Linked DNA regions of Homo sapiens: regions 2, 3, 4, 5 and 6 are each linked to region 1. The links are contacts of gene promoters, found by promoter capture Hi-C in blood cells and fetal thymus (Javierre and others, 2016). All regions are on one chromosome and are shown on one strand. Each heading gives the region's core, a stretch centred on a gene start or on the middle of the fragment in contact. The rest is flanking DNA. Distances are from core to core; before and after follow the strand shown. Region 1 holds the start of GFOD2 (Gfo/Idh/MocA-like oxidoreductase domain containing 2). Region 2 holds the start of AGRP (agouti related neuropeptide). Region 3 overlaps ATP6V0D1-DT (ATP6V0D1 divergent transcript). Region 4 holds the start of CTRL (chymotrypsin like). Region 5 overlaps RIPOR1 (RHO family interacting cell polarization regulator 1). Region 6 overlaps CTCF (CCCTC-binding factor).

Region 1 (3,543 bases), core at 641-3,140:
GACTGGCCCACTCCTGCCTGCCCTGTCCCCGAGGCACCAGGGTTTTATGCAGAGGAGGGATACGGTAGATCATGCTGGTGTCCACCTGAAGGTGGTACTGGAGACAAATTGGAGCAAAAGAACCCAGGTAGGAGGCTGCAAAGAGGGCAGGTTTGAGAAAGATTTAGGAGAGAATTGGAGGTACAAGATGAATAACTGAATGTGAGGGAAATAGGAGAAGCAAGAGACAAGGCAAATGCAGACTTTGGTTGGGGGTGATGGGATGGATAATAGTACCACAAAATAACACAGAACAGAAGGGGGCAGGCAGTGGCTAAAAGTCACTGGAATTGGGAGGTTTGCCAGTAAATTAGGGGAGGTTTGCCAGTAAAAAAGTCACTGGAATTGGGAGGTGGTCCAGTAAATTAGGAAAACTGTCTTATGGATGTTCACAGTGATCGCCACCAGCTAATTAAAAGCTCAATCCTGTGTTAAAATGTGTTGCTTAACCCTGCACTTTCCAAACTTAAGTTACTACAGACTGTGTCACTCAGCAGAATCTTACAGGACTATTACTCTATAGAATGCTCTTAGGGAAGAGGTAGCATAAAGGGGAAAATATGGGTTTTAGATTAAGCATAAAGTCCTGGTTCTATATAAGTAAAGCCAGAGTAGGCTCATTTCCCCCTAGACTAGTGGTTCTCAACTGGGAATGATTTTGCTCCCAGGGAGACACTTGGCAATGTCTGGAGATATTTTTGGTAGTCACAACTGGGCTTGGGGTGCTACTGGCATCTACTGGGTAGAGCCAGGGATGCTGCCAAACATCCTACAATGCAGACAGCTCCCCCCACCCCTGCCCAACAAAGAATTATCAGGTCCAAAATGTCAATAGTGCCACTGTTGAGAAATCCTACTCAAGAAGAGTGGAACTCCGAACAATGACTAAGAAACAGATCAAACAGGCACATTTTGACTCTGCCTTCCTTCTGCCTGGCTCTAGAGGATCCAGGAGAGAAAGGATAAAATCCCATCAGAAGAGGGGGGGTTTAGGGGTTACAACTTCTCATCACTTTGGAAGCCTTCCATGCTCCTCACAGAGGTGGTAGGAGTCCTGTCTCCGCTCAAAGCAGGGATAGCTCTGCTGCTAGTTAGCATATCTCAGTAGGAACTGCCTCACGCTTAGGTCAGCTGACATATTCTGTCACCACAGGCTGCTCTGGAATGATGGCTGGGAGATCATCCTAATGCCAGCTGAGTGGGGATCTTGATACTCAGCAGGAGGGTCAGACAAGCAGGGACGGGGGCTCCCCATGCAGATACAAACCCCAATCACATTTCCTACACAGGCAGTTTTATTCTAAGGTCTAACGGCTTCCTTACTCTAGCGGATAGTTTGCTATTTGGTGGGGCATAGGCTTCAGTAAAGAGGCCAAGGGGACTGAGGTTACAGTCTTGAAGAGCACTGATATTTAAGGAACAATCAAAAAACATCCAGAGGAAGAGGAGCCCAGACAGGCACCTGAGAAAACGGAAAAACGAGTCACTGGGGGTCAGGGAGCCAGGAAGTCCGACGAGTTCGAGAGAACTGGCCTTCTGCAGATATGTCCTTGTCCAACACGAAACCGTCTTTCATTCCAGGACAACTGAGGCTACCCACAGCTACCAAAACCTGGTCCCTGACGCCGGTCAGCGGACCGGAGAGAAGCCAAGCTTAGGAAACTGCCGCCTCCGCCGCCGGAAATGAATAACCTGAGCCTCCTAGCCAGGCTGCTTAAGCTCCGCCCCCAAAAAGCGAGCATGCGCAGCTCCCGGCTACGGCCCCTCCCAGCGCAGGCCCATCCCCGTTATGGAGCATGCGCAGTCCTCCTGCCGTCCCGCCCCTCCCTTTCCAGAGCCCCCAGTTCCTTAGAAACCAGGCGGCGCGTTCCCGGTGGCGGCGCCCTGGACTCCCGGGCCCGCGCATCCCCGCCAGCCTTCCTTAAGGCGGATGGGTGGCCCCCGAGACCCCGTCGGACCCATGGTTTCCAGTGCAGCGCGGAGTGGGCGATGCCAGCGTGCCAGGTGAGAGGCGGCCACCGGTGGCGGGTGAGGGCGAAAGAGGGCATGGCGCGGCCGGGAGCGGGCGCCGACAGGGCCTTCTCCGCGGCCCGGCGCCGGAGGTTGGAGGCGTGGACCCGCAGAGCCGGGGTTGGAGGGGGCTTGTTCCAACTGCCTGCAGGCGCGTGGAGTGGAGGGTCGCCTTGGGATTCGCCCTTTCCACCGCAGAAATAGGACCCGCAGGCTTGGTGGTAGAATTATAGGATTTGGGATCCTGGAAGAACCTGAGACATAACCCATCCTTTTACCAGATGCAAAAACCTAGTCTCCCCCGCCCTGTGCCGAGCGGACCACCTGACTGTGTGAGGATGGACGCTTTGTGGATGAGGATGTGTGAGGTGTAGAAGCTCAGACAAAGGGCTCGTGGGGTAGCTGGTTCGTCCCCTTTCAGAATGAGATGGGACTTTTGGGGATAAATCTTTAAGAAACGGGTGTTCAGTTGACAGGTGGAAGAAGGGACACCCCAGAAGGTGCGAGTGGCTCTGCCAGCTCCCATGTGCCCTATGGCCACGTCTCAATGGCCCTGGCCTACCTTTGTATTTGTAGCTCTGGAAGGAAGCAGATGGACTTGAGACAAAAGGTGAAGTGAGGTCTTCCCATCAAGGCCCTATCACACTTAAAAGGTGAGGGAGGAAGAGTGGACAGGGACATGAGGGCTTGGGAATGGTTGTGTGAAGAGTTTACCCTCCAGACTACAGCACGATCTAAAGAACAAGGCAGGATAGAAGAGTTGAAAGCTGTATTGGATAGGCATCAGGGAAGCTTATTTAACTGTCTTATTTATGTTCATTGTTCCCATAATGTTATCCTGAGGGCAAGAAAGTGGATGTCCTTTTAAATGTCCAGAAAGAACTAGGGCAGGGCACCACCTTTGTGATCTGTGGGGCCCAAAAGCCTCTAAAGGAATAGCCCTTAGTGTGTGGCCCTTAAGTTGAAGGGAACAGCATTTAATTTAGAAAAGGAAGGCACTTAAATTTATTGTGATATGGAGCAATATAGAGAAGATGGTTGTTTTTGAGTCGGGGAAGCTAGATTCATTCTTGATAAGGAAACTTATTTCCTTCTGGAAAGCTACACTAGAGAACAAAAGAGTTTTAAGGCCATCCATTTTACAGGAAACGTGAAAAAATTAACTGCTTTGGGATTGGGAGTTTAGAGAACCTGCCTGGACCAAGAGAGGAAATTTTCAACAGACGGTTCTGTTGGTCGAATCCTTATTTCACAGATAAAGATTCTGTTGTGAGAGGTTATCTCTTACCACCTGGTTTTCCCACTTTGCCATGGAATAATCATTGGTCTGGGTCTAATTCTCTATCTATCTATCTATCTATCTATCGAGACGGAGTCTCACTCTGTCACCCAGACTGGAGTGCAGTGGTGCGATCTCGGCTCACTGCAATCTCCGCCTCCCAGGTTCAAGCGATTCTCTGGCCTCAACCTCCTGAGTAGCTGGGACTACAGGCA
Region 2 (3,543 bases), core at 484-2,983, 240 kb after region 1:
GACCATGAAGAGCTCTCCATAGCATGGGTGCTGACCAGGCCCAGCCTGGGTGACAGAGTGAGACCCTGACTCAAAGAAAAAGACATAATGAGGTGTGATTTTAATTTCTTGGATGTCCCAGTATATATAAATGTTGGGAGTATGGATTGCTTCATTTCATTTTAAATAGCATTTTTTTTTTAAGATGGAGTCTCACTCTGTCACCCAGGTTGGAGTGCAGTGGTGCGATCTCTGCTCACTGCAGTCTCTGCCTCCCGTGTTACAAGTGATTCTCCTGCCTCAGCCTCCCGGGTAGGTGGGATTACAGGCATGTGCCACCATGCCTGAATAACTTTTGTATTTTTAGTAGAGATAGGGTTTCACCATATTGGCCAAGCTGGTTTGAACTCCTGACCTCCAGTGATCCGCCCACCTTGGCCTCCCAAAATGCTGGGATTACAGGCGTGAGCCACCGTGCCTGGCCACCCTTTATCTTCTTTTCTTTTTGAGACAGGATCTTGCTCTGTCGCTCAGCCTGGAGTGTGGTGATGCAGTCATAGCTCACTGCACTCTTGAATCCCTGTGCTCAAGCCATCCTCCCACCTCAGCCTCTACTACAGGCATGCACCACTACACCCAGCTATTTTTTTATTTTTTGTAGCAACGGGGTCTCACCATGATACCCAGGCTGGTCTTAAACCCCTGGCCTTGTGATCCTCCCACCTTGGCCTCTCAAAATGCTGGAATTACAGGTGTGAGCCACCATACCTGGCCCCCTTCATCTTTTTTCCACTGCCTTGTGCCAACCCAGTTTGTGCACTGGGGCCTTGCGATCCTCTCAAAGCTGATTCAGCCTGCATTCCTTTCCCAGATGGACACGTGTGTGATAAACAGCTCTGCAGTGGGGTGAGGGAAGGCAGGGGCAGCAGGGTCCTGTATGTCCTGCCATCTCCACAAAAGGGCAGTCCTTACCCCAGCCTTGTGCTGATGAGACCAGGCATAGACAGTCCTGACGACACAGGGCGGAAGGGAGCAGCCATTAGTGCTAATGAGGCAGGCGGCCTGAAAGCTTTGTACTCTGCAGTGGCTCGCCCACCCAGGGAACAGTTCGTTCTGTTTCCTTGGCTTCCAGGAACCCTAGGCAGAAAGGGGTTTGGGGACAGGAGCAGGAGTGGGCGGTCTTGGAGAAACCTGGAGGGAGAAAGGGAGGGGAGGACCAGAAATGTAGTCAGGAGGGCCTAGGATTGGTTAGGTGGGCTTTTCCTTCCCCTTTCCCTCCAAAGAAACCCAGGTTCTGGTTCTGCACCTACCCCTGCCCAACAGTGGCCATTGGCCCATCACCCGCTCCAATGTCCTTGACCCGAATTCTTGGAAGCACAGGAAACAACATGCCACATAGGGGTTGAGTAAGCATCTCTGGGGCCACAAATTAAATTAAGCTTTCAGGGCCGCCTGCCTTGTTATTGCTAATGGTTCTAGCCCTGCTCAGCTCCTAGGTCCCTGTCCTGTGGAAATTTGTGGACCCTGGGCACCCTCTCTTGCTCCCAAATTTTAATCGGCTCCTGGAAACCTCACCCCAAATTGGAGATAGGCACTCCTCTTGTAGAACAAAAGGCTCAGGTTCAGGGAGTGAGGGCCTGAACTGTGCCCCCACCCTCCAGGAAGGGTCCTTCACGGCCTGGCTGCAGGGATCAGTCACGTGTGGCCCTTCATTAGGCCCTGCCATATAAGCCAAGGGCACGGGGTGGCCGGGAACTCTCTAGGCAAGAATCCCGGAGGCAGAGGTGAGTCCTCAGGTTGGGCAGGGACTCCTCCTCTCTGTGGGGTCTCTATCTGGGCACCTAGAGGGGACTCCAAGGATAAGGAGGGACTAAGTGGTACATCTTCCTGCTGAGCCAGGCCATGCTGACCGCAGCGGTGCTGAGCTGTGCCCTGCTGCTGGCACTGCCTGCCACGCGAGGAGCCCAGATGGGCTTGGCCCCCATGGAGGGCATCAGAAGGCCTGACCAGGCCCTGCTCCCAGAGCTCCCAGGTCAGTGTGAGCAAGGGTGGGACTGGGCGGGGCCTGAATACCCTCTGGCCACAAATAGTCTCCCCTGGCATAAACCCTCTTTCTCCCTTCCCAAACCCTCCCCTGGGAGGTGGGTGCTTTGTGCATGGGGGTTCCTGCCCTCACATCCTCTGCCCCAGGCCTGGGCCTGCGGGCCCCACTGAAGAAGACAACTGCAGAACAGGCAGAAGAGGATCTGTTGCAGGAGGCTCAGGCCTTGGCAGAGGTAACTGCTCAGGGAAAAGGGTAAGGTGGTGGCCCTTGGGAGGGGGCATTGGGTATTAGCTCCTCTCCCCAGCTCCAAACTCCCTCACCAGCGACGACACTACCGACCACCCCTTCCCATGCTCCACTGCCATCCTGCACAGGTTGGGACAGGTAAGATCCCTGGATCTGTCTTTAGAGGCCTGTGCTGGTTCCCCACCCCTGCAGGTACTAGACCTGCAGGACCGCGAGCCCCGCTCCTCACGTCGCTGCGTAAGGCTGCATGAGTCCTGCCTGGGACAGCAGGTGCCTTGCTGTGACCCATGTGCCACGTGCTACTGCCGCTTCTTCAATGCCTTCTGCTACTGCCGCAAGCTGGGTACTGCCATGAATCCCTGCAGCCGCACCTAGCTGGCCAACGTCAGGGTCGGGGCTAGGGTAGGGGCAAGGAAACTCGAATAAAGGATGGGACCAACCCCAAGGCTGTGGTTATTTCAAACGTGGCCGTCAAAGGAGGGAGGGTTCATGGAGGGGGTGGGAGTGTCACCAAGCCAAGAAACCACACATACTCTTATCCCAGGGCCTGGGCTACCCTATCATAGGAGGCACATACACGGGCGCTTTTAGGGGTCCTGGTGCCCCTGGGAAAAATAGAGAAGAGCCGCACTCCAGCTTTCGAAAATCTTGTACAGCAAGTGCGGGGAACGCAGGACGCAGCGTGGCACAGGGGCTATCACTCCTGGCTAACAAATAAGCCTTAGGCTCCAGGGCTTGCTGCTACTTCCACGCAAAGCCTGCCCCTCATCCTGTTACCAGAGGGAAGGCCAGGAGTGTGCGTTGTTCAGGTCCTTAGCGTTTCGAACAAAGAATTGAACAAAACCCAGAAAGTAACAAACGAATGACACACAGGAAGGAAGCAGACAGCTGGGATTTGTTAAAGCGAGAAAGCACTACGCAGGGTGGGAGTGGGCCTGAGCAAGAGGCTGAAGGGGCTCAGTTACAAAGTTTTCCGGGTTTTAAGTACTCCTTTTGCGGTCCCTGTCCGTTACCCCTTATCTGGATGAAGGGTTTGGTCCATGGCTAATTAATCCATTTATGCCTGAGGTTGCAATCTTTTTGAATTTTTGCAATCAGACCTTGGCCATGACCTTGAGCAGTAGGATATAAATAACTCCCATATGCTTAGCGTTCCAATAATGGAACACAAGGCATAAATGGGGCTAAGGTGAATTGGCGCCCTATGCAGATGAAGGGATGGCCCGTGCTTGGCCCGCAGCCAATCCAAGGCACTCTCCCTTTCAACTGAGACG
Region 3 (3,543 bases), core at 693-3,192, 210 kb after region 1:
GGGTTGGAAATAGAGTTGAAGAAATCTCCAGGAAGTAGAGCAAAATGACAGTAATGGAAAGTGTAAAGTGAAAGGGACCGGGTGCCGTGCTCACGCCTGTAATCCCAGCACTTTGGGAGGCCAAGGTGGGAGGATTACTTGAGGTCAGGAGTTCGAGACCAGCCTGGCCAACATGGTGAAACCCCGTCTCTACTAAAAATACAAAAATTAGTTAGATGTGGTGGTGCACATCTGTAATCCCAGCTACTCAGGAGGCTGAGGTGGGAGAATCACTTGAACGCGGGAGGTGGAGGTCGCAGTGAGCCCAGATCGCGCCACTGCACTCCAGCCTGGGTGACAGAGCGAGACTCCATCTCAAAAGAAAAAAAAAAAGAGACAGAGAGAGAGAATTTCCCATAATTGAGGTACTATGTGTGTTTCCAGATTGAAACGGCCTGTCCCAGGGTGGCTAGCTGTCACAGAGCAAAGGGTCTCAAACCTTTTGGTCTCATGACGTCTTTTCACTCTTCAGTATTTTTGAGGATTCTAAAGAATTTTGTTCATGTTGGTTATATCTATTATGAAAGGAAAATAAAATCTTGGGACCCCAAACTCATTATGTCAAAGGGAAAGTTAAGCTTGGGAACCACAAAAACTGCCTTCCTTTCCCAAACGGACAGCTGTAATTTCACAGGCTTAGTTATGTAAAATGTAGATCTACTAAGCCCGAGACAATGCATAGTTGACTCCCCCGACCCCTTTTCACATATAAAATGTAGAGTCACTGAGCTGCTAATCACAGCCTCACAACAATGTCACCACTTGCCGCCCTGCCTACCCTCCTGCCCGCTTTTTTCCCCTTTCCTCCCTCCCCTCCTGCTGCCTCTTTCCTCTTTGGAAAAAGCACAGGACACAGATCGTACTGTGACTTGTGTCTCTTTTTCCCCGGGCGTGTCCTCAACCTTGGCAAGATAAACCTCTAAATTGATTGAGATGCCTCAGTCACTTTTTGGTTCACACCATTAATATTTACCATGTGAGAAATTAAAACAGAGAAAATGTTTACATGTTTATTAATTTATTTAAAATGATATCATGAAACCATTACATGTTAACACAACTTTTTTTTTTTTTGAGAAGGTGAAGGTGTCTTGCTCTGTTGCCCAGGCTGGAGTGCAGTGGTGCGATCTTGGCTCACTGCAACCTGCCCCTCCCAGGTGCAAGCAATTCTTCTGCTTCAGCCTCTCAAGTAGCTGGGATTATAGGCGCATGCCACCAAGCCCAGTTATTTTTTTTTTTTTTTTTTGAGACGGAGTCTTGCTGTCGCCCAGGCTGGAGTGCAGTGGCGCGATCTCTGCTCACTGCAGGCTCTGCCCGCTGGGTTCACGCCATTCTCCTGCCTCAGCCTCCTGAGCAGCTGGGACTACAGGCGCCCGCCACCTCGCCCAGCTAATTTTTTGTATTTTTAGTAGAGATGGGGTTTCACCATGTTAGCCAGGATGGTCTCGATCTCCTGACCTCATGATCCGCCCGCCTTGGCCTCCCAAAGTGCTGGGATTACAGGCGTGAGCCACCGCGCTCAGCCAGCCCAGCTAATTTTTATATTGTTAGTAGAGATGGGGTTTCATTATGTTGGTCAGGCTGGTCTCGAACTCCTGATCTCAAGTGATCCTCCCACCTCAGTCTCCCAGCGTTGAGATTACAGGCATGAGCCACTGTGCCCAGCCAACACAACATACTTTTAATGAAAAATAACTACATTTTTCCAAACCAAAAAGAAAGTGAAAACAGTGGTATTGTTTTGTATTTTTTGCAAATCTCTTCAATGTCTGGTTTAATATTCTGGTTTAATTCCCATATCTGCTTCTATACTCAACCTGTTTCAACATCACATGTCACAAACAGCCAGGCGCAGTGGCTCACACCTATAATCCCAGCACTTTGGGAGGTGAAGGCGGGAGGATCACTTGAGGCCAGGAGTTGGAAGACCAGTCTGGGCAACATAGCAAGACCCCTCTGTCAGTATAAAAAACAAAATAAAAAAACACATGTCATGTAGCCTCTGGAAAATCCCACTGTACACTCATGAAAGACAAATAATATCTTTTTTTTTTTTTTTGAGACAGTGTCTTGCTCCATCACCCAGGCTGGAGTGCAGTGGTGAGATTTCAGCTCACTGCAATCTCTGCCTCCCGGATTCAAGCAATTCTCCTGCCTCAGCCTCCTCCTGAGTAGCTGGGATTACAGGCATGCATCACCACACCCAGGTAATTTTTGTATTTTTAGTAGAGACTGGGTTTCACCATGTTGGCCAGGCTGGTCTGAAACTCCTGACCTCATTATCCATTTGCCTTGGCCTCCCAAAGTGCTGAGATTATAGGCGTGAGCCACCGTGCCCAGCTGACAAATAACATCTTAATATTACCGTGAACCTAGTGTAGACTTTATGGATACTTCAAAAGGACCGCACTTTGGAAACCACAGAGTTAAACAATATCAAGTCTCATTGGCTTCATGCAATAAAAATGTACTCCAATGAAGACTGGCCAGCTTCCCATGGAGAGCTGGCTTTTTCCATCATGCTGTAAATTATACCATCTGGAATGCGTGGTTTCCAAGTTTACTGAGAGAGAGAAGGGGGCTGGTGAATCAGGTGGGATGCTTTTAAGGGTAGGGCCTGAGCCAGGCACACTGGCTCATGCCTATATGACATCAGCTATTAGGGAGGCTGAGGTGGGAGGATTGTTTGAGCACAGGAGGTTGAGGCTGCAGTGAGTCATGATCACAGCACTGCACTCCAGCCTGGGTGACAGAACAAGACTCAGACCTTTAAATAAAAAAAAGACTAGGGCCTAGAGGTGGGGCATGTCACTGGAAATGTCATCTTCCTGTGTGTCCAGGAAGAGAATTGGGTGTGGTGAACACTTAGCATCTGCTCCACCCCTGGGGTGATCGTGGCGCTCACATGATCCTGTGACCGGAAGCCTCCACAGGGTCACTTCATGAACATTTCTCATGTTTCTGCAGCATTTTCAAACAGTTGCCCTGTTAGTGACAGCAGTTATAACAGGTGACTTTGACTTCGAGCATTTGTCCCATTCAAATTAATTTTTCTATTTTAATTATAAAAGTAATACATGTTCACACACACAAAGCATCATTTCAATGATCAGAAGGACAAAAGAGAAAGATAAACATTACACCCCATGGAACCTCCTTGAACTGTGTCACCACCCGCGAGAAGCATAGTGAATTCTCTCAAAAAGTTTCTTTGCATCTCTAAGCTTACATCTACATCTATTTTTTGGAATGCAGTTGGGGTCATATTATGCATACTGTTCTATAAATCCGGAAGGAGGGGCATTAAGTAGACAAGATGATATGCAGAAGCAGATGGAAGGTAGAAAAACTCCTCTGCATGAATTCAGGGCTCCCTCTGGCTGAAAGAAGAAAAAGAAGAGCGTGGCTGGGGATGTGGCCGTAGAGCAATGACAGTCAGGCCTAGCCTCCCAGCAGCACGCAGGAGAGGCAGCCAGACCCCCAGATGGACTGCCCAGTCCTCAC
Region 4 (3,543 bases), core at 564-3,063, 210 kb before region 1:
AACATTTGTAAATGTAACAGAAAAGTAGAAAGAGTTGTATATTGAATACCCTTATACTGTCAGGTCACCACAGACCTGACAGTATTTTGTTATATTTGTTTTATCATCTATTCATCCCTCTATCCATTAATTCATCGCTCCTTTTTTTTTTTTTTTTTTTTTTTTTGAGACGGCGTCTCGCTCTGTCACCCAGGCTCTGGAGTGCAAATATTTTGTTATATTTGTTTTATCATCTATTCATCCCTCTATCCATTAATTCATCGCTCCTTTTTTTTTTTTTTTTTTTTGAGACGGAGTCTCGCTCTGTCACCCAGGCTCTGGAGTGCAGTGGCGCAATCTCAGCTCACTGGAAGCTCCGCCTCCCAGGTTCACGCCATTCTCCTGCCTCAGCCTCCCGAGTAGCTGGGACTACAGGTGCCCGCCACCACGCCCGGCTAATTTTTTTTTTTTTTGTATTTTTAGTAGAGACGAGGTTTCTACTGAACCTGTTAGCCAGGATGGTCTTGATCTCCTGACCTCATGATCCGCCCGCGTCGGCCTCCCAAAGTGCTGGGATTACAGGCGTGAGCCACCGTGCCCAGCCAATTCATCTCATTTTTTGGCTGATGCTGTTTCTTTGAGATGGGGTCTAGCTCCATCGCCCAGGCCGGAATGCAGTGGTGCACTCATGGCTCACTGCAGCCTTGAACTTAAGGGCTCAAGTGATCCCTCCTGCCTCAGCCTTCTGAGTTGCTGGGACTACAGGTGTGTACCATCATACCCAGCTCATTTCTTAATTTAAAAAAATTTTTTTTGTAGAGACAGGGTTTCATGATGTTGCTCAGGCTGGTCTCGAACTCCTGGAATCAAGCCTCCTACGTCTGCCTCCCAAAGTTTTGGGATTACAGGTGTGAGCCACCACACCCAGCCCTGATCTGTTCTTGAATCAGTTAAAGCCCTCACACTCCCAGAAGGCCGCCAGCCAATGCACCTGTTGGAACTTTGCACACAGGGTGTCTTCTCCCTTCAAGCTTGGTCTGCAGCTCAGTAACAAATGGGCTACAGACACCAGGGGCTTGCCCATGGGAGCCCCAAGGCCTAAAGAGGGTGGCAGAGATTTGATGTCTGTCACTCTCCACCTGCAGCCTCAGTCCACGGTCGGCCAGGCACCAAGAGCTCACACTTTGCCCTCCTAAATGCCAGGCCCTTCATAAGTATCATCTCATTGTTAAGAGCGGAGGCTTCAGCGCCAGACAAATGCGAGTTTGTGTACAACTCAACCACGTGCTGGTGGGAGAGTCACCATCTCTGAGCAGACCTGTGACTCCTGTTCCAAATGGACGAGGAACCACTGCGATGATGTGTTAGGACTCCCAGCCTGCCAGAACCTCACAGCCCCTGGCCCTTCACAGCAAAGTTGACCGCAGTGAGCATTCCATCCACCAGTCAGAACACCCTGGACGCTGAGCGGCCTTCTCTGAAAGCCTGGTGCCTTTGTTAGCCCTGGGTGACTCCTGTGATCCCAGCCACCAGGTTGTCACTATAGACCTAATTTAACCATCTGTCCTCAGTACCGAGGGCTCAACATTTGGAATGGGAGGTGGTTCTGGGAGCCAATTAGAGGCCAGGCTTTGGGAGGTGGCAGAGGTGAGTCTCACACCTGGGCTCTGTCTGATAAGTCTAGGTCTCGGTCAGGGGACCTTGGCCTAAAGGGCCTGTCTTGCCTGGAGCGTGGGAGGGGGCTGAGTCTACACAGCTGGCCTGGCCTCAGGCCTGGAGCTTTAGCTCAAGGACGAGAAGACCCATAAAGCCAGACCCAGCTCCCAACCTCACATCTGCCACGATGTTGCTGCTCAGCCTGACCCTAAGCCTGGTTCTCCTCGGCTCCTCCTGGGGTGAGTGGGCCAGGACCAGCCCTGATTCAGCCCTGGGAGCAACTCAGCTCCCAGCAACAGCCCAGGGAAGGAGCTAGGCTGGCTGGAAGGGACGAAGGTGGACAGAGTGGGCAAAAGAAACAGGATATGCCAGGGCAGTGGAGCAGGGAACAGGCCTGCAGGGCTGGGAGGGGGCAAGAGGTGGGGTGGTCTCACAAATAGGACCAGAGATTGAGCCAGGCCCTGGAGCCCGGGAGGGTTTAGGAAGCTGAGACAGGAAGACCTGTCCATGTCTTTTAGAAAGAACCTTCTGGCTGCATGAAGGGTATGAACTGTTCAGGTCGGGAGGGGGCAGAGAGACCAGGGGTAGAGATGGGGAACAGCGGGGACTAGGCTGGAGACAGATGTAGGAGAACAGCAGGGCTGGGGGACTGGGTGGATAGGGATAACCAAGATAGCTGTGGGGCCCGAAGGTGCTTGCATGTACCCTGTTGGGGAAGGGGTAGTGCTGTACCCTCTCGACAGACCTCTCTGGGGTGCACAGCCTGGGGCACCCAAAAGGAGGTGGGGAAAGATGGGCTGAGGCATGGGAAGCAGGTCCTCATTAGCCCAATGGCCAGGCTGCGGCATTCCTGCCATCAAACCGGCACTGAGCTTCAGCCAGAGGATTGTCAACGGGGAGAATGCAGTGTTGGGCTCCTGGCCCTGGCAGGTGTCCCTGCAGGTACACCACCAGAGGGGTGGGCAGGGTCCTGGGTACGTCATGCCTAGGGGCAGCCTCAGCAGCCCACCCCCACTCTGACCTCTGAGCCCTGACCACAGGACAGCAGCGGCTTCCACTTCTGCGGTGGTTCTCTCATCAGCCAGTCCTGGGTGGTCACTGCTGCCCACTGCAATGTCAGGTGAGTGCCTGCATTCCACCTGCCCCGCCCCTCGCCTCTTCCTGCCTCCTCCCCTGGCTGTCCCCCTCTCGCGCTGGCCTCCCTGCAGCTGCCTAATCCCACCCCCTTGCAGCCCTGGCCGCCATTTTGTTGTCCTGGGCGAGTATGACCGATCATCAAACGCAGAGCCCTTGCAGGTTCTGTCCGTCTCTCGGGTGAGTGCCTGGGCTGCAGACACGGAGGAAAAGTGGGCAGTGCAGGTGGGTGGGTGCTGGGAACGAGGAATTCAGGACATGCCCTGGCCTACCCTGCTCAGCACCCATCAGAACATGGACTGTTTCTGACCCCACAGGCCATTACACACCCTAGCTGGAACTCTACCACCATGAACAATGACGTGACGCTGCTGAAGCTCGCCTCGCCAGCCCAGTACACAACACGCATCTCGCCAGTTTGCCTGGCATCCTCAAACGAGGCTCTGACTGAAGGCCTCACGTGTGTCACCACCGGCTGGGGTCGCCTCAGTGGCGTGGGTAGGGACTCAGGCCAAAGCTCAGGGTGGGAGGACTGGGGTGGGGACCAGTGTTCTGGGCCCCATGTGACCACCCCTCCTGGCCCACAGGCAATGTGACACCAGCACATCTGCAGCAGGTGGCTTTGCCCCTGGTCACTGTGAATCAGTGCCGGCAGTACTGGGGCTCAAGTATCACTGACTCCATGATCTGTGCAGGTGGCGCAGGTGCCTCCTCGTGCCAGGTAAGCCCCAGCACCCGCTCCTCTGCGCTGTCCTGTGGTATACCTCCCCAACC
Region 5 (3,543 bases), core at 416-2,915, 170 kb after region 1:
ATCCTCACACCCACCCCTGGCTAGAGCTGAATACTAGGCTCTGGCCTCAGGACTCTGCAGAGCACAGAGTCTAGGGTCTGTCCCTTCCCAGCATTGGAGAGCAGGGATTCTTAGTGACAACGCCAGTGGACCCCTTGGCTGGGATGATGACATTTTTCCATCCTCCATTTCTTGCCCAAGCCCTGCTCTCTCCTGTGTACTGAGCTGTGAGCTCATGCAGGCTCAGTCACCCCCATCTGCACTTTCCCAGGACCTGGTCAACCAGTGTTCACTTCCTCTTCCCCCACCATGACAGGCTATGCTTTTGATGCAGGTGGATAGCCCTGCTCTACCAATGGGCCTCTTGTGGGGGCCTCAGGACTGAGGGCTGCTAGGGGCGGTTCTGGGATTGCCGGCCTCCTCCAGGGACCCCTGGGGCAGGCCCCAGCTGTGGCCAGCCTTGGGTGCTGGCCTGGTCTCCATCATTTGTTTGCCTCCTCTGCCCCATGCTGCTCCAGCTCACCACCCCAAATACTGAGCTGCACCATCCCGTGCCACCCTTCGTTACCCAGAGAGCAAAGAGCCGCGCCAGTGTGCAGAGGGCTGCCTGCCTGCCCCTGCCCACCCTCGCCCCAGCGTCTGGAATGAGCCACTTGCATCCACACAGGTGCTTCCTGTGCTTCTTCCTGTTGCCGTTTTTTCTGCTCAGCTTGGCTTCCCCAGCAGGTGGTTAAAGCCCCAGCCAAACCTCTTCATACCTAGCTCTAAAACACTGGGGGGCAGGGCTCCCTGGGGATCTGGGTCACCCTCCAGAGGACTGTTGGCACTTCACTGGCTCTTCCTGAGGGCAGGCTCCCCAACGTGACACGTCCTGCACAGGCCAAGCTGCTGCCACAGGTACTGGGACATCAGAGTGGCCTCAATGAGTCAGGGAAGTGCTGCGTATGCACCACCTCCTTGCCCCTGGATACTGGAAGTGCTGAGGGAGAGGGGAAGGGTGGAGAGCCTGTTTCTCTAGCCACGGGTGTGGGCCTCCCTCAGCCCCTCCTTAGAACAGGCCTGCCATCCTGAAGTCCCACCCCACACTCCAGTTCCTCACGCAGGACTCAGCCTTCTGGGGTTAACACATTCACTGGCCAGGCAGCTCTGGGGCAAGGCGAGGCGGGGCAAAGGCAAGCCCTCTCCTGGGATCTCTGCTTCCTGAAGCAGCACAGGTTGGCCGGCTGTTGGGGATCACAGAGTTCAGGCACGTTTGTTATTATAGAGGGGGAGACAGCTGGAGAGGGAAGGGACTTGCTGTCTTGGGTCACAGGTTAGCCATCCAGGTCTCCTGCCTCCCAGGTCCCAGCTCTTCCCCTCCGCAAGGAGCTCCTCTCCCCTGCCATCCAGCTTCAAGGAGCTCCTTCAGCCCCCTCTGCAGAAAGCTGCCCAGGCTGCAGAAGACCCAAACCTGGCATCTGCTGACGCGGATCTGCTGCCCCCTGGTGGGCAGAAGCTCCAGCCACCCCGTGCCTCCTTTCCCTTCCTGTTTTTCCTTTCCCTTCCCCTTTGCTCCCAGGCCACAGCCTGGGATTGGCACCCTTTGGTGTTTTCTGGGCCAACTCCAGTTTAGCTCCACCTTGGGCCGTAGTTCCCAGGCCCAGGGTAGGCCCCACCTGCAGGCTGAACCACCCTTTTCCCCTGCTCTCTTCTCCAAGCCCAGTTCCAGCCTCTGGGCTTTCTTCCACCTGAATTTCCAGGGCAAGTGCACATGGCACTGTCACAGCTGCAGTGTGAACACACCAGTGTCAGGCAGGGCCACAGCCAGAGGGTGTTGGAGCAGAGGGTCAGGAGTGTACCAGGCCATGTAGGAAAGACATTTTGCTTTTTTATTTTCTGTAAAACTCTGTAAATAAAATACAAAACCAAGGGATGTGGCTGGGCAGCGGCAGGGTGGCCAAGCCCCAGACACTGATTTGTGGCAAGGGATGTGCTGAGCCGAGGCTGGGAGGCACTTGACTGCAGGCACTGACTCTCCAACCCCAGGGGCAACAGAAGAATATATTAGATTTTCATTGCTAGGAATCTGTGGGGGAGGGGTATCTGGAGCCAGCCCTTACCCTCCCTGCCAGTGCCTGGTGAGCCCTGAAAGTGGGGGGAAAGGGGCACCAGGAACCCATGGGTGAATAGTTTAGAATGCTGTGCTGGCCATGCTGCCAGGCCCAAAGATGCGGGGCAGGGCGTCCAGGGACTCCTCCAGCCGTCGATGGGCAGACTGTCCCTCTTCTCCTGTAATGAGTGAGGATGAGGTCAAGGGTGGCCCTAGCCCCATCCCACTCTCCCACCCCTGGCGCCATCTCTCCTACTCCCATCAGCCAAGATGTCCCAGAACTCCACCCATCTCTTCCATCCCCCAGCCTCACCACACTGCTGTAGGCTTTGCCGGGCAGCTTCCCTCACAGCTTCTGTGTCAGTTTGGCAGAGGTACACCAGGGGCTCAATGCCCTCGGGAGCCTGTCAGGGGAGGGAGCATTGAGGTGGGCTCAGGGGAGCAGATGGGAGGGTTTCAGGGGTGGGGGTGCCGGAAGCGGACAGAGGGGTGGGAGGGTTGGCAGGGGTCACCTTGATGCAGCCTAGGGCCAGGCAGCCAGCCACTCGAGTCTGCACGTCCTCATCCTCCAGCTGGTCCAGGAAGCACAGGAGGGCCTGTGGAAGGGTGGGAGGACAGACTTAGCCAGACAGTGGGAGTCCAGGACCCCAGCCCTCGCCCTCAAGGGAGCCCTGTCCAACTCACCCTCTCCCGGAAGGTAGGGCCCAGTGACAGGCTCCGGAGCTGGGTGCTGACAGCAGCCATGACCTTGTTGTTGCCATGGACGAGCAGGGAGCTGAGGGCCCGCAGCCCGTCCCTTCGCAGACGCCCCTCGGGCGCCAATCTCAGGGCCTTCAGCACAACAGCCTGATCATCCGAGTTCAGATTCCGCACCAGTAGCACTGAAAAAAGGGGATATGGTGGGTGGGTGGGCAAGGTGGCAGGGTGAGGAGCCCCCGAGGTTGGGGAGGGCTTGTCCTCATGTCCTCAGACCCCAAGAGGCCACTATGTGATCAGGGCCACCGCCTCACCCTCCTCAGCGGTCTCAGTCACGTAGGCCTCCATGGTGGGGCTGTCCAAGGTTTCCACAAAACTCCAGAACTGGAAGACTGTGAGCTGCTCTCCAGGCCCTGGCTGGGGCCTTCTGGGCAGCTTCTGCCCCAGGGCATCCTCCAGGAACTTCACACACACTGCAGGAGGCAGTAGCATGGGCCTCAGAGTTTGGGTGAACACAGCTTTTAGAGGGGAGAGATGCTCCTATCCCAGGCTCAGGTCCAGGGGCCCCCTGTTCAAACCCCACCCATCTGGGTCCTTCTGCTCTAAGGCCCAAGTCTTTGCTGGTCTCCTCGGTGCCCAGTTCGTTTATCTGTGTGGGCTGACCTGGCTTCCCCGAGCTTCCTGTCACTGGGAATCTGAGCAAGGGTGGAAGGAGGAAGCAGCCCACTCACCAGCCTCAGCCAAGCCTGGCTGGCGCAGGGAGAGGCGGGCACCATACT
Region 6 (3,543 bases), core at 382-2,881, 150 kb after region 1:
CAGCAGAGGACTGCTCGAGCCTAGGAGTTCAAAGCCAGTCAGGGCAACATGGCAAAACCCCGTCTCTACAAAATACATAAAAATTAGCCAGGCAGGCCGGGCACAGTGGCTAACGCCTGTAATCCCAGCACTTTAGGAGGCCCAGGCGGGTGGATCATGAGGTTAGAGTTCGAGACCACCCTGGCCAACGTGGTGAAACCCAGTCTCTACTAAAAATACAAAAACTAGCTGGGCATGGTGGTATGCACCTGTAATCCCAGCTTCTCAGGAGGCTGAGGCAGGAGAACTGGTTGAACCCGGGAGACGGAGGTTGCAGTGGGCCACCATCGCACCACTGCACTCCAGCCTGGGTGACAGAGGAAGACTTCGTCTCAGGGAAGAAGAACAACAACAAAAAAAAGGCCAGGCATGGTGGCTCACGTCTGTAGTCCCAGCACTTTGGGAGGTCGAGGTGGGTGGATAACCTGAGGTCATGAGTTCCAGACCAGCCTGGCCAACATGGTGAAACCCCGTCTCTACTAAAAATACAAAAATTAGCTCGGCACGGTGGCAGGCACCTGTAATCCCAACTACTCCCGAGGCTGAAGCAGGAGAATCACTTGAACCTGGGAGGCCGGGGTTGCAGTGAGCCCAGAACATGCCACTGCACTCCAGCCTGGGAGACAGAGTGAACTCCATCTTAAAAAATATATATATATACACGTATACATATATATGCCAGGCATGGTGTTGTGTGCCTGTGGTCCCAGCTACTTGGAAGGCTGAGGTGGGAGGATCGCTTGGGGCAGGTGGGGGACAAGGCTGCAGTGAGCCATGATCACACCACTGCACTGCAGTGTGGGCAACACAGTGACAACCTGTCTCAAAAAAAAAAAAAAAAAAAAAAAAAGCCGAGTATGGTGGCTCACACCTGTAACGTCAACACTTTGGGAGGCCGAGGTGGGAGACTTGCTTGAGCCCAGGAGTTCAAGACCAGCCTGAGCAACATAGTAGGATCCTGTCTCTACAAAAAAATAAAAGAATCAGCTGGGCATGGTGGCACACGCCTATAGTACCAGCTACTTGGGAGGCTGCAGCAGGAAGACTGCTTGAGCCCAGGAGTTCAAGGCTGCAGTGAGCTATGATCATGCCACTGCACTCCTATCTGGGCAACAGCTATGATCATGCCACTGCCTCAATCAAAATGTATTAAAAAAAAAAAGTTTCCAAGCAATTTGGCACATGAGGTACATCTTCTAAGAGGAAATCCATCTCACAATTAGCTAAACTCCACAAAACTCACTAATACTTAGATGAAGCTAAAGTCTCCTCTGTTGAGAGGCAATTTTTAGTAACACAAATAGGTGATTAGCATATTTAGTCCAACCAACACTTCCATACTGGAGTCCATTATTATTACCAGCATACCTCAAAGGGAATGAAATTTTCTACCCCTGAAAATTCCAAGAGTGACCAAAAACAAGGATCAAGTGTGAAAGAATACCATCCTAACCCTCACCTTTGGACTGTATTTTGGCAGTCTATATGCAATGCCACAACTTTGCATTCAAATATTAAATCACTGAGAAAATGCACAAAGATACTAGCAGGAAAGATACGAAGACAGACTACAGAAAGTTTACAGGTGTTTAAAAAAAATGGGCTGGACACGGTGGCTCACACCTAATCCCAGCACTTTGGGAGGCCAAGGCAGACAGACTGCTTGAGGCCACGAGTTTGAGACCAGCCTAGGCAACATGACAAAACCCCATACCTAGAAAAAATTAGTCCCAGCTACCCAGGAGGCTGAGGTGGCAGGATCATTTGAGCCAGGGAGGTGGAGGCTGCAGTGAGCTGTGATCACACCACTGCACTCCAGCCTGGGTAAAAGAGAAAGACCCTGTCTTAAAACAAACAAACAAACCCCACAGGCCGGGCACGGTGGCTCACGCCTGTAATCCCAGCACTTTGAGAGGCGGAGGCGGGCAGGTCAGGAGATCGAAACCATCCTTGCTAACACGGTGAAACCCCGTCTCTACTAAAAATACAAAAAATTAGCCAGGCGTGGTGGCAGGCGCCTGTAGTCCTCCCAGCTACTCGGGAGGCTGAGGCAGGAGAATGGCGTGAACCTGGGAGGTAGAGCTTGCAGTGAGCCGAGATCGTGCCCCTGCACTCCAGCCTGGTAGACAAAGCGAGACTCCATCTCCAAAACAAACAAATACCCCACAAGAACAACAAAACAAATGTGGTAAGACTAATCTTTTTTTTTTTTTTTTTTTTTTTTTAATTTTGAGACAAAGTCTCACTCTGTCACCCAGGCTGGAGTGCAACGGCACGATCTTGACTCACTGCAACCTCCGCCTCCCGGGTTCAAGTGATTCTCCTGACTCAGCCTCCTGAGTAGCTGGGATTACAGAAACAGACATATGCCACCACGCTCAGCTAATTTTTGTGTTTTTGGTAAAGATGGGGTCTCACCATGTTGGCCAGGCTGGTCTCAAACTCCTGACCTCAGGTGATCCGCCCGCCTCAGCCTCCCAAAGTGCTGGGATTACAGGTGTGAGCCACCATGTCCCACCTACAAATCACATCAATTGAGAACCATGGTCTTCAAAGTTACACATTATTTGCCATTATTGTTCTTTTTAAATCATAATGCATCTGAGTTGTTTGAAGAGGGGCCTAATTTTTGGCAAAACAGTCAAGTCATCTGGAGCCAAGACAGGTAAATTAGGCAGACAGATGGTCTAGTTTAAAAAAATTAGGTGGAGTCTATAACGTAGATGATGTGGAATGGCTGTGACAGCAGCAGCATCCCTGAAGCAAAAAAAGCAGTCTCTAGAGGTGACTTTTGGCCAGGAGGCACCAGCCTGCAAGGCTCTGCCCAGGATTCCTCCCCAGGGCCTTAAGTCAGCCACAAGTGGCTTCCACCAAGGAACTCCCCAAGCCATTCAGAAGTCCCAGGTGAGTGCCCCCATTTGCGTGTGTACTTTAAAATAAAATCCTAAAGCTCTTAGAATTTGAATGCATCTTAAGGACAACTTCACCTCTTAAATTCTTACATAGGTTGAATGGATCCCGATAAAGTTAACCTTTACAACTACTCTTTTTTTTTTTTTTTTTTTTTGAGATAAGAGTCTTGCTCTGTTGCCCAGGCTGGAGTGCAGCAGCACAATCTCGGCTCACTGCAACCTCCACCTTCTAGGTTCGAGCGGTTCTCCTGTCTCAGCCTCCCTAGTAGCCAGGACTACGGCGTGTGCCACCATGCCTGGCTAATTTTTTGTATTTTTAGTAGAGACAGGGTTTCACTGTGTTAGTCAGGATGGTCTCAATCTCCTGACCTCGTGATTCTCCCGCCTTGGTCACCCAAAGTGCTGGGATTACAGGCGTGAGCCACCGCTCCCAGCCACAACTACTCTTAAATAGGCAGTATTTTCTTATGCAGGCAAACATTCCTGTTTTAATCATCCTCCTATCACTAATTTAAATAACAGGTCCTGGCCTGGCGAGATGGCTCACGCCTGTAATCCCAGCACTCTGGGAGGCTGAGGCGGGTGGATCACC

Evidence for each region. Contacts are between HindIII fragments. The CHiCAGO score rates a contact against its expected background, and 5 or more counts as called.
Region 2: a contact is called between the fragment with the promoter of AGRP here and the fragment with the promoter of GFOD2 in region 1, in 2 of 17 cell types (endothelial precursors and fetal thymus). The highest score is 5.4, in endothelial precursors.
Region 3: a contact is called between a fragment that was not itself captured here and the fragment with the promoter of GFOD2 in region 1, in 1 of 17 cell types (endothelial precursors). The highest score is 5.1, in endothelial precursors.
Region 4: the fragment with the promoter of CTRL here is called in contact with the fragment with the promoter of GFOD2 in region 1 in 11 of 17 cell types (erythroblasts, megakaryocytes, endothelial precursors and 8 more); the score reaches 10.9 in erythroblasts.
Region 5: a fragment that was not itself captured here is called in contact with the fragment with the promoter of GFOD2 in region 1 in 1 of 17 cell types (neutrophils); the score reaches 5.5 in neutrophils.
Region 6: a fragment that was not itself captured here is called in contact with the fragment with the promoter of GFOD2 in region 1 in 1 of 17 cell types (endothelial precursors); the score reaches 5.4 in endothelial precursors.

The regions. Positions count from the first base shown.
Region 1 is chr16:67,717,663-67,721,205 of GRCh38, reverse strand. It overlaps GFOD2 (Gfo/Idh/MocA-like oxidoreductase domain containing 2), which reads left to right and starts at 1,890. Exons shown (of 3, transcript NM_030819.4): 1 at 1,890-2,043. RefSeq lists silencers at 1,973-2,022, 2,083-2,132 and an enhancer at 2,493-2,572. The HindIII fragment of the contact is 1,149 bases long and covers 1,695-2,843 here.
Region 2 is chr16:67,481,737-67,485,279 of GRCh38, reverse strand. AGRP (agouti related neuropeptide) reads left to right here and starts at 1,733. Exons shown (of 4, transcript NM_001138.2): 1 at 1,733-1,763; 2 at 1,879-2,011; 3 at 2,170-2,255; 4 at 2,462-2,709. The coding sequence starts at 1,882. The coding sequence ends at 2,644. It overlaps ATP6V0D1-DT (ATP6V0D1 divergent transcript), which reads right to left. Exons shown (of 4, transcript NR_184227.1): 2 at 952-1,170. The HindIII fragment of the contact is 2,406 bases long and covers 1,421-3,543 here.
Region 3 is chr16:67,503,901-67,507,443 of GRCh38, reverse strand. ATP6V0D1-DT (ATP6V0D1 divergent transcript) reads right to left here. Exons shown (of 4, transcript NR_184227.1): 4 at 1,041-3,419. Among named protein-coding and RNA genes, the nearest start is that of AGRP, 22 kb to the right of the region's middle. RefSeq lists an enhancer at 2,607-2,716. The HindIII fragment of the contact is 2,646 bases long and covers 620-3,265 here.
Region 4 is chr16:67,930,132-67,933,674 of GRCh38, reverse strand. It overlaps CTRL (chymotrypsin like), which reads left to right and starts at 1,813. Exons shown (of 7, transcript NM_001907.3): 1 at 1,813-1,874; 2 at 2,474-2,577; 3 at 2,676-2,755; 4 at 2,868-2,949; 5 at 3,087-3,267; 6 at 3,357-3,490. The coding sequence starts at 1,823. RefSeq lists enhancers at 2,322-2,838, 2,839-3,356. The HindIII fragment of the contact is 4,510 bases long and covers 1,013-3,543 here.
Region 5 is chr16:67,545,070-67,548,612 of GRCh38, reverse strand. It overlaps RIPOR1 (RHO family interacting cell polarization regulator 1), which reads right to left. Exons shown (of 22, transcript NM_024519.4): 17 at 3,496-3,543; 18 at 3,079-3,237; 19 at 2,753-2,949; 20 at 2,581-2,664; 21 at 2,382-2,472; 22 at 1,827-2,247. The coding sequence ends at 2,150. Among named protein-coding and RNA genes, the nearest start is that of CTCF-DT, 15 kb to the left of the region's middle. RefSeq lists a silencer at 1,313-1,607 and an enhancer at 1,557-1,616. The HindIII fragment of the contact is 5,451 bases long and covers 1-3,543 here.
Region 6 is chr16:67,565,237-67,568,779 of GRCh38, reverse strand. All of the region lies in intron 1 of CTCF (CCCTC-binding factor), which reads right to left. Among named protein-coding and RNA genes, the nearest start is that of CTCF, 4.5 kb to the right of the region's middle. The HindIII fragment of the contact is 4,800 bases long and covers 1-3,543 here.